3 separate regions of the Homo sapiens genome follow, and regions 2 and 3 are each linked to region 1. Evidence: promoter capture Hi-C in 16 types of primary human blood cells and fetal thymus (Javierre and others, 2016). All regions are on one chromosome and are shown on one strand. Each heading gives the region's core, a stretch centred on a gene start or on the middle of the fragment in contact. The rest is flanking DNA. Distances are from core to core; before and after follow the strand shown. Region 1 holds the start of HTR2A (5-hydroxytryptamine receptor 2A). Region 2 has its middle 490 kb from the start of LINC00562. Region 3 has its middle 510 kb from the start of LINC00562.

Region 1 (4,274 bases), core at 819-3,318:
TGCACCACTAATGTTCTCTCTGCAAATGTTCCAAAGTAATTGGGAAGGCTTTATCACTCCATTAAAAGTGCTGAAAACTGTGTGACAAAGATTAAAACTGTTCTGTCCTGAAGGCTGGAATATTGGTTGGGAATATAAAGAAGCAAAAATCAAGTAGATTCAGAATGATGGGTAAGTTATTGGTTTATGACTGTATGGGGTAATTTATAAAAATTTCTACATTAAATGTACATGTTTTGAAGCACAAAACTCTCCAATGATCATTTTTACACAGGATGTACGCGTTTTGAAGCACAAAACTCTCCAGTGATCACAGGTCATAGACTGTCTGATTTTTATGTGAAATCCCATTTTAAGAGTAAAATATAAGTAACATAGTAGGCTCTAGTCTATAAACAAAGACTTCTATTTATAGTTTGTTTGCCCCCTGAGCCCCATCTCATCTGCTGGTGGCATGCACATGCTCTTTATTACCAGTGCGAATATAGCTGGGAAACTAATGCCACTCACCATACAGGATGGTTAACATGGACACGGGCATGACAAGGAAACCCAGCAGCATATCAGCTATGGCAAGTGACATCAGGAAATAGTTGGTGGCATTCTGCAGCTTTTTCTCTAGGGACACTGCCATGATGACGAGTATGTTTCCAGCAATAGTTAGAATAATCACTACGGCTGTCAGTAAAGCAGACCAGTTTTTTTCCTGGAGATGAAGTAAGGAGAGACACGACGGTGAGAGGCACCCTTCACAGGAAAGGTTGGTTCGATTTTCAGAGTCGACTGTCCAGTTAAATGCATCAGAAGTGTTAGCTTCTCCGGAGTTAAAGTCATTACTGTAGAGCCTGGTGTCATCATTTAATTGCATTAGGGAGTTCGTAGTTGAGCTCAAAGAAGTATTTTCTTCACAAAGAATATCCATGTCTAAGCCAGAACTTGTAGCAGATGAGGTGTAGAAGGACTAACAGGTTATAGTTTCTGCTCACCATTCACCTTGATGTACCCACACTCTGTAACACTGAGGCTGGTGTACATGCTGTTCTCCCGGGGCTGGATTTTTGTCTTCCATTATTACAATGATAGTTAAAGAACTGAACTGTGGTGGCTGTAAGTTTTCTTCATTCACAATTTTAGGAGAGTCCACTGTTTGGTTTTATTATTTTCTCACCAAACCGAGGACAAAAAAGCAGAATGAACTTTTAGCATAGAGGTTGCAGGGTTTTTTTTGAGCGCTCGGGAAGATAAATGTCCTGGACAAAGAAGAAAAGTTTTATAACTACTGGGACTCTTGTTTAACTATATCTCATTTTGTTGGTTATGCCGATGGTACTAGTTTAGCAACAGTATTATTAAAATAGCATGCAATCAGAAACAGTGGGGATGTACACATTCTACATTAAGAAAGTCAATTAAAAATACATCCAGTGTTAATCCCATAGTAATTGGATGTACTTTGGGTTACAGTTCTCAGCCATTCTTAAGCTGAATTGCCACAGCTGCTGTCAGGAATTTCAGCTCCTATAATGTTGCTTAGCTAATAAAAGGAAAACAAAAAAGTCTTAAGTAAAGATTAGCAGACAACTTTCCTCCCTGGAAATTCTCATTGAAATGATTACATGTTGGCCAAGCATGATTTCAAACCGGAAAGAAAATTACACAGCAATAAAATATAGCGGCATGAGAACTTACATTTGTCTTCAGGGTCCACACATGAGATACATTTGTTATTCTGTGACTCGCTGCATCTCTCACAGTAATTAAACTGGTGTAGAGTCCCCTCTTCTTGATCTTCCACCAGCATAATATGATAGTAATTTGGTTTCTGTTTTGCTGACTTCAAAAACTGCATGCAAGAGCTGAGCCAGCTCCCGCACTGCTAGGATCCTGTTGGCTTCCTCTGGCACGGCTCGGCTGGGTTCCTCCCTCCCTGTGCGGCTCGCCTCAGCAGGCACACATTTAGAAATCATTCACGAGCCCCTCAAAGTCGCACAAAAGAACTGCATGGGAAAGTAGGAAGAGCTGTCTGCACCAAGGGACTCCTGGTTTCCACGGGAATGGAGTAGCTCTCTGACTGTCTCGTTCATTTCATCAGACCTCCCTCTATGTGTATGTCATAAGCTGCAAGGTAGCAACAGCCAGGAGGGCGGACCAAACAGGCTTTTTCTTCTCCCTCTTTTTGCTACATATTAATATTGGGAAGTTTTCCTTTGCTTTTGAGAGAAACTGGAGAAATGGCCTTTTGTGCAGATTCCCATTAAGGTAGGTAAGTGGCACTGTGGTAATTTTTTAGGCTGAAGGGTGAAGAGAGAACATAAATAAGGCTAGAAAACAGTATGTCCTCGGAGTGCTGTGAGTGTCCGGCACTTCCATCCAAAGCCAACAGTGTTTGTGTCCAGAGTGGAATTACTGACATTGGCCACATAGGCTCAGGGTGGCTAGGCACGTCTGTGGTGATAACTCTGATAAACTATTAGCACTATTTTTATTTAATAGATACACCATTGAACTGGCTTATTTTCTTCAGCAGAAATATGCCACCCAGATATTATTCAAAACCTCACATGTGGTAGGAAATAAGTTGGTTTCGCAGTACCAATTTTTTTCCCCCACCAGTAATGACAACTTGCCTTACTTGTAAAGAAAGCCCTTTCCCAAGTAGGTTTCTAAAGGAGGCAGTTCGATCTCTCTCTTTTTGCAGGCATGAAAATATTTTCCTCAATAGTTGGGTTTTGCTACAGTTCTATCACCTTCTGTTCTTCACATTCTCCCTGGACAAATTCAACCACTCTCATGCCTTCAATATGTTTGTGGCCAAGTCTGTACCTTCATAGCTGATTATTTCTCTCAGTTCCAGACCTAAATCTCTAGCTGCCCATTGGCTCCTTCCATGGTAGCCTGGGAGACCTTGACCTCAGCATCTTCCCTCACTCCGCATCCCCCTGCCCGGCTCTCAGTGCTTGTTCCTACCCATTGGCTTGCATGATGGAATCACCACCTCTTCAGACAGCTGCTGTTATCCGCGACTCTTCCTTCATTCTCGCTGCCAGATCCCACTTCGTCTCCGGTGCTACCTCTGTATGCGTGTTTCTCACATGTCCTCTCCTGCAGCCTGCAGCTGGCACCCTGTGGTCGAGATCTAGCCACCTATTTCCTGGGTGGGTGCCTTAGTGCCCCCCTCACTGCCATGCCTGCCACCCTCCTACCCCTCCACGTTAAATATGCACGCTGGCGAGCAGGCAGCGGAGAACACAGACCTTAGAGTTCCTTGGTTTTGGATCCTAGCTCTATCACTCATAAACAGTAGAACCTCGCCTCATCTAGTTGCTCCCTTTAAAGCTCAGTCTTCTCACTTGTAAAATGGGATAATACCTTCCTCATAAGATTGTAGTGAAGCTAAACTGAGATAATGTGTGTAAGTATTTGGCCCATGTCTGGCTTATAGGAGGTTCTCAAGTAATGTCAGCCACTTTCATTCCTATTGATATTCTTACTGATATTAATGACACAATTGGCATCACTCCCATGCCTACACTCCTGCAGTCCCTTCCTTGTGGGGCACATAACACTTTTCTTCATCTACCTGTACCCTGCTTGCCCCACTTTGCAGGCCTGGACTCTGGTTACTCTCCCAGTCAGCCTGTATGCAGACTGAACTTACATGTTTCTGACCATTTTTATGTCTCTGTACTTGTACTTCCCTGTGCCCGGAGTGCTCTTACCATTCCTTTTTTGTGTGTGTCCATCTGGCAAATTCGTGCTTAGTTCCAGAGCAGCTCTGGATCCCAGGCCTACCACTCACCACATCTGTAAGCGTGATTAAGCTACCTAATCTCTGTGTTTTAGTCTCCTCATCCGCAAGTAGGGAACATTAATAATAAAAAGACCTCAGGATTGACGTGAAAGCCAAATAAATTTACATATTTGCCTGGCACATTTTAAGCACTCAATAAAGGTTAGTTGCTATTATTCTTACTAAGTTTACTGTTCCTAAGCTTTCTGTAGCCCTCCTTCCCAGTGGAGGCAAAGACTATAGCACCTTCTGCAGCCTTCTATTTTTAACACATCATGTCTCATGTAAGCCTCATAAAGGCAGGAACTGTGTCTATCTTGTTAACAGCTGGGCGCATAGTGCTTAAGTATGTTTGTTGAATGAATGCATGACATCTGTGTAAATGTCTGTCTTCTCTATTAGATGTTGAACTTCATTTCCATACCCTTAATATAGATGTAATCTATATTACATCTATCTTATACTATTATATTATCCACCCAGA
Region 2 (4,274 bases), core at 1,142-3,641, 550 kb after region 1:
AGAATCATCAAGATTGAAACCCAAAGCCACTCATTGGTAAACATCCGGGGACAACAGACTATTAATGGTGGATACTATTCCTGTCTAACAAAGACAATCATGAAATTTACAAATCACAAACCCCTTATTGCTTTCATATTATCACTGCTTCCCACATTAGAAAGAATAATTAAAAATTAGTACACTTCTTTAGTATCTTATACCTTCTAAAGTACTTCCAGATTCCATCTTATACCTTCTAAAGTACTTCCAGATTACATCACATTGTTCCTTTTGTCAAGGAGAAGCCTAGTTCTTATTTCTGTTTTATTTGAAATAATATCTTATGGCCACACACTGAGTTAATAGGACAAGGCCGAGGCTCCTGAAATCCTCCAAAATATACATTTCAAGAGCACTTAAAAGGACATTCTGTAGCTGAAACTATATATTAGTCTTAAGCAACTAAGGTGTTCTTAGACTCTTTGACAGTAAGTCATTGTTTTGACAGGAAATCCCATGGCCTTCATTTAAAAAGAAAAAATTATCTAGGATATTGTCACTTAAAATGTGGTGAGTATAGTCACCACAAAAAGAGTGAAAAGGTTGCCAGATTTAAGTTACAGGACTTGGATTCTTGTTTATACTCTTGGTGTTGGCAGCTGAGTGACTTTGACCAAGTTGCTCAACTTCCCTGAGCTCCATTTTTCTTTATATAGAAATGGAGAAATAATAATATCTATTTCAAAAGTTCTTGTGAAGATTAAATTAGATAATACATGTAAAAATGCTATAAAATTATAAACCATTGTTTATAATCATATGACACAACTGCATTTGTTTACCTGACTGAATACTAGACAAAATATCACATTAGGGCAAAGTTTGTGTCTCTTTTATCTTAATTATTCCCATTAAGCTAGATCATAATAACTGGTATATATACATACATACATACATATATACATAGTAAATGCTCAGTGAATGCTTATTTCAAGTTATCGTGTAAAATAGAGGAGGTTTTCTAGAGAAGTGAAAAACTATATTTACCCTATATTTCAAATTTAATCCCTGAGAAGATAGAGAAAAAATCGTGGAGAAGGAAAAGACATGAAAATTAATTTTACAAACATTCTTTTCCAAAGACTTTTCTAGGTCCTTGCAGAATTATCTCAGAAAATCATTTGAATATCCTCACCAAATAAGAATTATTACAACCACTTTTGTAGACAAACAAGGCTCTAAGGGCTAATAAATTTACTAATTTTATTCAGCTGGTACATGGTTTAAATCAAGATCATATTCTCAACAAAGCCCTTGTTCTTTGGATTCCACTGCCTTTTCCTAACTACACTGGATTGCCTTGGGTCTCTTAGTTATTCATTATGAAAGAAAGGGAGCCCACTTTTTAATTGGCCAAAAATAAATATTTGTCCCCTCAACCATCTGTCATTATGTCTGCAATCACCACTGTTAGCTGGACATCTTTAATGTTTCCCAAATTGTGTTTTCATGAAAAAGTGGTCTCATGGAATGTTGCACAAATAAAGAGTCACATATTATGTCCTTCCACAGAGATTCACAGAGTACTATAACAAAATAAGGGCTCTGTGAAGTCCTAAGCCAAAGAAATCTGTTCAAAATAGCCAAGAGGGTCTTTTGACCATGAAAGCCTTCCCCTCACCACATAGAATGGATTAACATTCAAGGAAAGAGGACTACACATTGGGAAATATTGCCTTACAGCCTTCTAGGAGCAAGTATTCTTTAATTAGAGAAAACATGACCATTGCATGAGACGTAAAACTTGCTTACACTGTGATAGAATTTGTTTTATTGTTCAAGCCTAATTGTATCCTCTTTAGTAGGAAGTAAACCAGAGTGAAATAATAAAACACACAGTGTTTCTCAACACAGCAGGTGCCTGGGAGAAAGGTTCTGGGCCACTTTGAGCTGTGGTTCCCTGAAGGAGGAGTTGCTAAAGATAAGGGGTACACAGGTTGTCCCTGAGGACAGATATACCTTCTCGATTTTATTTGGGGTGGTTCCTAGGTAATGAAAGGAGATAGTTCTTAGCAATAAGAAAGTAACTATGATTCTACTATTTAAACTTTCAGTTATCCTTTAGGGATAATGGAATAAATGGCTTGTTGAATTGTGAGATGCTCATGAATTAATCCCTCATGGAGAAATTGTGCATACAGGCTAAAGCCCATACTGAAACTGAGTAGGACACTGGGGCTAGATCGTAAGCTTTCTTATATCTGGACTAACTTCTCCCAAGAGAGGGTGATGGGGAGTGTGTTTTAATGTCTTGTAAAATGCCTCTTAAGGGAAGGAAGTTTATCAGCCATGGAAGAACCTGAAAAAGGTGACACTGAAGAATATGCCACAAATCGGCATTCATTGATTCTGAAACAAGAAATAGTAGAGAGGAAAACTCTTCTCTCCTAACAATGGTCCATAATAGCACCTAGAGTAGGAACTTCTGCCCCACACAATCTGCCCTGATAGGGAAGAACTACCATTTAGATAATCCTGCCTGAGTCTGAGGAGATAGCACTGTATCAGAAAGCTTAATTCATGCCATTATATTTCAAATATTCTTCAGTGTAGCTTTCCTGGTAATAAAGCTAATATTTCCATGGCCAGATACAGGATTCCTGCATTCATCTCTCAATTGGTTATGAACTTGGGTTGGAACTGGGGGTTAAATAGGCATTATAATTATCTCCTAAACTCACTGAAGTACTTTGCTTACATTCCCTGTGATGCTCTTAGGCATGGGAAGTCAGCAGGAAAATACTGCAGAATGTCACTCATGGGTCTCACCCCACCTGCCCTGGCAGTCACTTCATTCGCCAGCCCTTGATACTCACTCAAGATGTGAAAGAGCTTTTTCTCTCTCACTCAGCAACTTGTTTTCTTTAACTGATTTTGGCAATCTTATTCTATATTCTGGGAAATTTGACAAGTAAAATAAAGTTGCTCAACTAGAATGACATCTTGGTTCTGCATACTATTTTCAATAAAACTATTGATTTCAGACTCACAGACACCAGAAACACACTAACTATTCAACAACAAACTCAGAATATGTTTGTCTTTTATATAAAGACAAAGACCTGACTTCTATGCTCTACTTCTGATACCTGTATTTAATAGGCACTAAGATATTTGTTGAGTAAATGAAATGAAGGAGTGTTACCAGACCCTGGGTCAGTTATTGGTAAAAATTTGCTACAAACTTATGTCACTTGTGTCTAATATATAGATAAGATCAGGGCATACAAATTCTACCTAGTTCTCTTCTTTTGTACTGAGGTGATATTCACAGAAAATGAGGCCAGAAAAATGACATTGCCTATTATGGGATTTGGCCTCAAGTCCCTCTTTAGTCTCCTATGGAGAAGACGTACAGTATATTTAAACCACAGAGACTATTTCTCCCTAGAAAGAGGCAGGCGTGGGAACTCTGGCTCTAGTTGTGCCCCTTCAATCCTATCTGTTCCAGCTAGGCATGCTAAGGAAATTTGAAGGGGATCAAGGGCAAAAGATGTTATTTTTTCTTCCCAAATGGTAACCAATCTGTGAACTATCTTACAGTACCAACCCCATAGGAGGAAAAAAATGAAAAGTGACTGTGATGGTTAATTTTATGTGGCAACTTGACTGGGCCATGGGCTGCCCAGATATTTGGTTAAATATTATCCTGGATTTGTCTGTGAGGGTATTTTTAAAAGAGATTAAAGTTTGAATCTGTATACTGAGTGAAACAGATTGCCTTCCCCAATGTGGGTGGGCCTCATCCAATCCACTGAAGACCTGAATAGAACAAAAAGCTCAGTAAGGAAGAATCCGCTCTCTCTGACTGTTTTGGGGCTGGGACATCAGTCTTCTGCCTTTGAACTCAGACTCAGACTGGAGCTTACCTCCTCAGTTCTCCTGGTTCTCAGGCCTTCAGACTTGGACTGGAACTATACCACTAGCTCTCCTGGGTCTCCAGCTTGCCAGCTGCAGATCTGGAGACTTCTCAGCCCCATAATCATGTCAGCCAATTCCTTATAGCCAATATCTCTCGATAGATGGATGGATGGATGGATAGACAGATACACGTTCTATTGGTTCTGTTTCTTCAGAGAATTCTGATTAACACATGGACCAAAGGCCAAATAATCTATATGGAGAAAATGTCTCAACAATGCTAATTTTTTAATCTCTTTAGTCATCACAAGGAAAACACCACTCTCTAACATGGTTAGTTTGTACCCATACTCTTGATTCAGACCAAAATT
Region 3 (4,274 bases), core at 1,167-3,666, 530 kb after region 1:
GCTTACACAAAACTGTGTATTTTTCTTTACACTGGGACCTGAAAAGTTACTTTTATTATTATATATTATACCATCATTATTATTATTTCTAAAATAATAATATGACATTACATTACTAGCTTGAGTCTCATCACTTCCAAATGTGATCTTGTGCTGGCTTTCATGGAGGAATTCTAGAAGAGTAGCTTGTCAAAGGAGCAAATTTCTAGTATTCCCAAAACTGAGTGATGCAATTATTATTTTCCACCTGCTAACTTCCCAGAATATCAACATTTCTTAGCATTGAGCTTACTCTGGGCCATTTCCTACAGATGTAAACTTTTCTCAAAAAAGCCCTTATAAAAATATAATTATACAAGTTCATCGAACACTGTGGAGAAAGAAAGAGGTGGGTTTGACACCCAGACATAGCCTATGAGACACAATGGAATGAAAACATTTATTCAATTTTTAAATTTTTAAAAATCTAGTAAAGATGATTTTTAAATGTAAAGGAATAAAACAAAGAAATAATTCCTGGGAGATAAGTAAAGCAAGTGAAAAGAACACCAAACTATAGATCAAGGATCAAAGGTTTAAGTCCCACTTGAATATATGACTCCTATTATTTTTCAAAACACATTTATTGAAGTTTAATTCATAAACAATAAAACTCACCTTTTAATGTACAATTCTATGAGTTTTGACAATGCAATCACCACCATAATTAAAATACGGAACATTTCCATCGTACCAAAAACTTCTTTCATGCCTCTTTATAGTCAAACCTTCCTTTGGGTTGACTATAAACAATTCACAATTTCTAGTTTTTTGTGATCCAATCCTCCTTGTAGTTTTGTTGAGCTAATATCAGCTGCTTTGTCTTCTCTGTGTTTCAGTTGGCCCCTTCCCCGCCAACCACTGAAGAATAAGACACTGTCGTTTCCAGTGCAACAGCTTTGAGTCCAACATCTATATAAGTTACTCTTTTCGCTGAAATTCAGTGTCACTTTACAGTCTATAAATTGATTGTATTTTTGTGTCTTATCTGAGAAATTACTTGTGAACCCAAGATCACAAACATTTACTATGTAGTCATCTAGAAATTTTAGGCTTTATATTTAGATCCATTCTGAGGAGTTAGTTTTTGTACATGCATCTATATCCAAGATTGTTTGCATGAGGTATAAATTATGGGTCTTTTTTGCATGTGGATATTCAGTTATGTGTACATTATTTTTGGAAAAGACTATGCTAACATATTGTCATTTGACACTGGCAGTTACCTGGGACCTCAGCTGGTGTTGTCTACCATACCAGTGGTATGTGGGCTCTTCATTTGTTCTGGGCTTCCTTCCAACAAGCTTGTGACAATGTAGTCAGACTACTTATGCAACAGCTTAGGGCTCCAAGAGCGAGTGCTCCAGCCAAGAAGGCAAAAGCTGCATCACCATTTATGCCTTAGTCATAGCATCACTTCTGCTATACTCTATTGGCTCATGTGGCTACAAGCCCACCCAGATTCAAAAGAATGAATAAGAGGACAGAGGAGGCCACACTGAAGAAAAGCATGCAGAAGATTAATATTATTGGGGACTTCTTTAGAAAATACAATCTGCTACATCGAGCCCTTTTAATTTTATTATGCTTAATCCGAGAAAGTCACTGGAAGTTGTCCTACTTCCAAAGTCTTACAAAAGTGGCTTTTTGGATTCCTGGACAACATGAACTTCCATGAGGCAATATTAGCCTTGGGGGAAAAAATAGACTTATTGACTTGACTGAATCCTGGCAGGAGGACAAGATAGCTCAGAAAAAGTACACCTTAATTCTATTTTCCTTTGGGTGCCTGTATATGGTCACAGAATTTTACATTCCCCTGAGGTATTAGAGATGTGAAGACTGAGAAAGGAATAGGAGAGGAATACCTTAGAGATGCCACTATTTTTCTGTTGGCACCCCTCCCCCAATATCCCATGGCTGAGAAAAGGGATATGACCCTGAGGGTTTGGGTCCTGGTCTTTTCCTTCACATGAATATGTAGCTTGGACACAGGACTATAAACCTGGATCTGTCATCTCTCACTGTTCAGAAGAGCAGACAGTACAATGAGATACATGCACTTTAAAAATGGCTGTCTTCTTCCACATAGGTTAAACCCATATTCTTTTACTTTTTTTTTTTTTTTAGAAAAAGGAAAACTAATAGGATAATCAAATATCCGAGTAGAGACTGTCAAAGCTTACTAAGAAAGAAAGAGTAATATAAATTAGCCTTGGGATTGTCCATAAAAAACAATTCAGTGGAACATATACAATGTCCTTTTTACGGTTTAATCTTTACAGACACACATATTCTTCACTTATGTACTTCTCATAACACAGCCATTTGCTGATATTTGTATTTAATCAAGACTTTCTTCCTAACCTCTGTTATTGGCTACATCTTTGGGGATCACTTTATGGAATGTGGGCAGTCATCATTAGGTATGGTATCCAGGCTCTCGGAGGGCTATTTCTTGCCCTTTTATACCAGTTCACATAGAATCAGTGTGTGACATAGCTAAACAATTTAAATCTTCATTGTAAAAGCCAACAGGTTAAAATAATTTCTACCACTTCCAGGGTTGGATTAGAAGCTTAGATAGGCTGGAGCCTTAGGAGAACCCTAAGTGATTTTACTTTGAGTTTCTGGAGAGGACTGATGCTTGAGAAATGTGGAAGTTGCCCTCAAGAGGAGGAAAAGACCCGTGATTTTATTCATGCAGATGTTATATTCCCTGAGTATGAGAATAAAAACAGCTGGTTATTGGAGAGTTGAGCGTGTTAGGATTGGAATCTAGAAAAGTTGTTTTTCCAGGATATCTGAGTGGCTAATCAAAGAGCAGCACATGCTCTCTATAGCTTAAGTGAGAAATATGGCACAGGAAACAATCCTTTTAGATAGAAACAGGCACAAGTTCCAATCTGTAAACAAATGTAAATATAAAAGTTGTAAACTGTAATAAATGTAAACTTCCCTGAAGTCCAAAAAAGTCAGCATGTGACATAAGTTGAAGGAAGTTTATTTTTAAAAGCCCAAAGATGGTGGTGGACTGAGCATACGTTTTACCTTCTGCATTACCAAGCTGCACGCCCTTCCCTCACAAATAATAAAAAGGGGGAGGTGGGAAAAGAAACAAGCACTGAAAGAAAGAGGATGAATAAGTGAATGAATGAAACATCTTAACAAACCTTTGGAAGTGGGAAGCACATAAGCAGGTTAATGAATGAAGCAGGCAGAGACACTGAAGCCTTGAGTACACTTGGAAGAAACTACAGAGAGGCTGGTCAGTTAGTTGGGCAGAGATCTGAACACCTCTGAGCTAAGAGTCAGCAAGCAGAGCAAGTGGCAGGAAGAAAAAGTGAAAATTAAAGGTGTAATTGAAGGTCAATAAATATGAACTGCAGACCACTTAGCCAATAAAACAGCCACATCCATTATGTAGCCATAACCCCACATATATGTAATTGGGGTATCAAAAAAGAGGCAAGAATGGGAGACAATTTTTTTATTTGTGAGGGAAGGGCGTGCAGCTTGGTGATGCAGAAGTGAAGCATATGACCAGGTCCGCTCCCATGTTTTTAAAATTGTTATTTTTAAAAGCATAACAATTTCTAAGCATGAAGAGCCCAGACAGTGGACCTTTGCTCATAAAAGTAAAACCTGGCCTACTTGCCTGTAAAGAAATTAAATTAAGTGCTTCGAGAAAATGAAAATTTCTAGGGTTCACGTGGGCACAAAATAATAAAGTTCTCTTCATTGTTATAATGATAGCTTCTAAAGTTCCAGCCTGTCAACTTCTGCTTCTGGAGTAACAGTCATAGCCATTCCTCCCCCATTCAACAACTGAAAATCACACAAAATATATATAACAAGTTTTCAGACTTTAGATGAAAGGCAGTGCAGATTCTTGAGAGAAGAGAACAAGTGAGATGTGAGACCGATGGTTTCCAGAACATGTCCAGGCTGAAGAGCAGGAAGGAGGGTATCAAACAGAGCATCTCAATCTCCCTGTGATAGGGAGATAGAGTTTAGAACTGAGGGATGACAAGGTGTTTAGAATTTGCAGGAAAGATTATAGGAAAGGGGAGAGCATTGCAGAAAGAGAGCCTTGGACTTCTTTAGAGGGTTTCCCTCAGATCTTCAGCAGACTTTTCAGTGAATCTTTGTGAGGAAAGTACTTAAGGCTAAGAGAAGAATTTCTAGATAAAAGCAGGGAGAGAACAATCCTCAGAATTCTCACAGGGCTAAGA

What was found. The method cuts DNA at HindIII sites, captures the fragments that hold promoters and counts their contacts. A CHiCAGO score of 5 or more calls a contact.
Region 2: a fragment that was not itself captured here is called in contact with the fragment with the promoter of HTR2A in region 1 in 3 of 17 cell types (M0 macrophages, M1 macrophages and M2 macrophages); the score reaches 9.4 in M0 macrophages.
Region 3: a fragment that was not itself captured here is called in contact with the fragment with the promoter of HTR2A in region 1 in 2 of 17 cell types (M0 macrophages and M2 macrophages); the score reaches 8.2 in M0 macrophages.

Annotation. Positions count from the first base shown.
Region 1 is chr13:46,894,985-46,899,258 of GRCh38, forward strand. HTR2A (5-hydroxytryptamine receptor 2A) reads right to left here and starts at 2,069. Exons shown (of 4, transcript NM_000621.5): 1 at 1,690-2,069; 2 at 511-1,250. The coding sequence starts at 922. The HindIII fragment of the contact is 5,377 bases long and covers 1-3,990 here.
Region 2 is chr13:47,445,087-47,449,360 of GRCh38, forward strand. No RefSeq gene overlaps it. Among named protein-coding and RNA genes, the nearest start is that of LINC00562, 490 kb to the right of the region's middle. The HindIII fragment of the contact is 322 bases long and covers 2,231-2,552 here.
Region 3 is chr13:47,424,939-47,429,212 of GRCh38, forward strand. No RefSeq gene overlaps it. Among named protein-coding and RNA genes, the nearest start is that of LINC00562, 510 kb to the right of the region's middle. The HindIII fragment of the contact is 397 bases long and covers 2,219-2,615 here.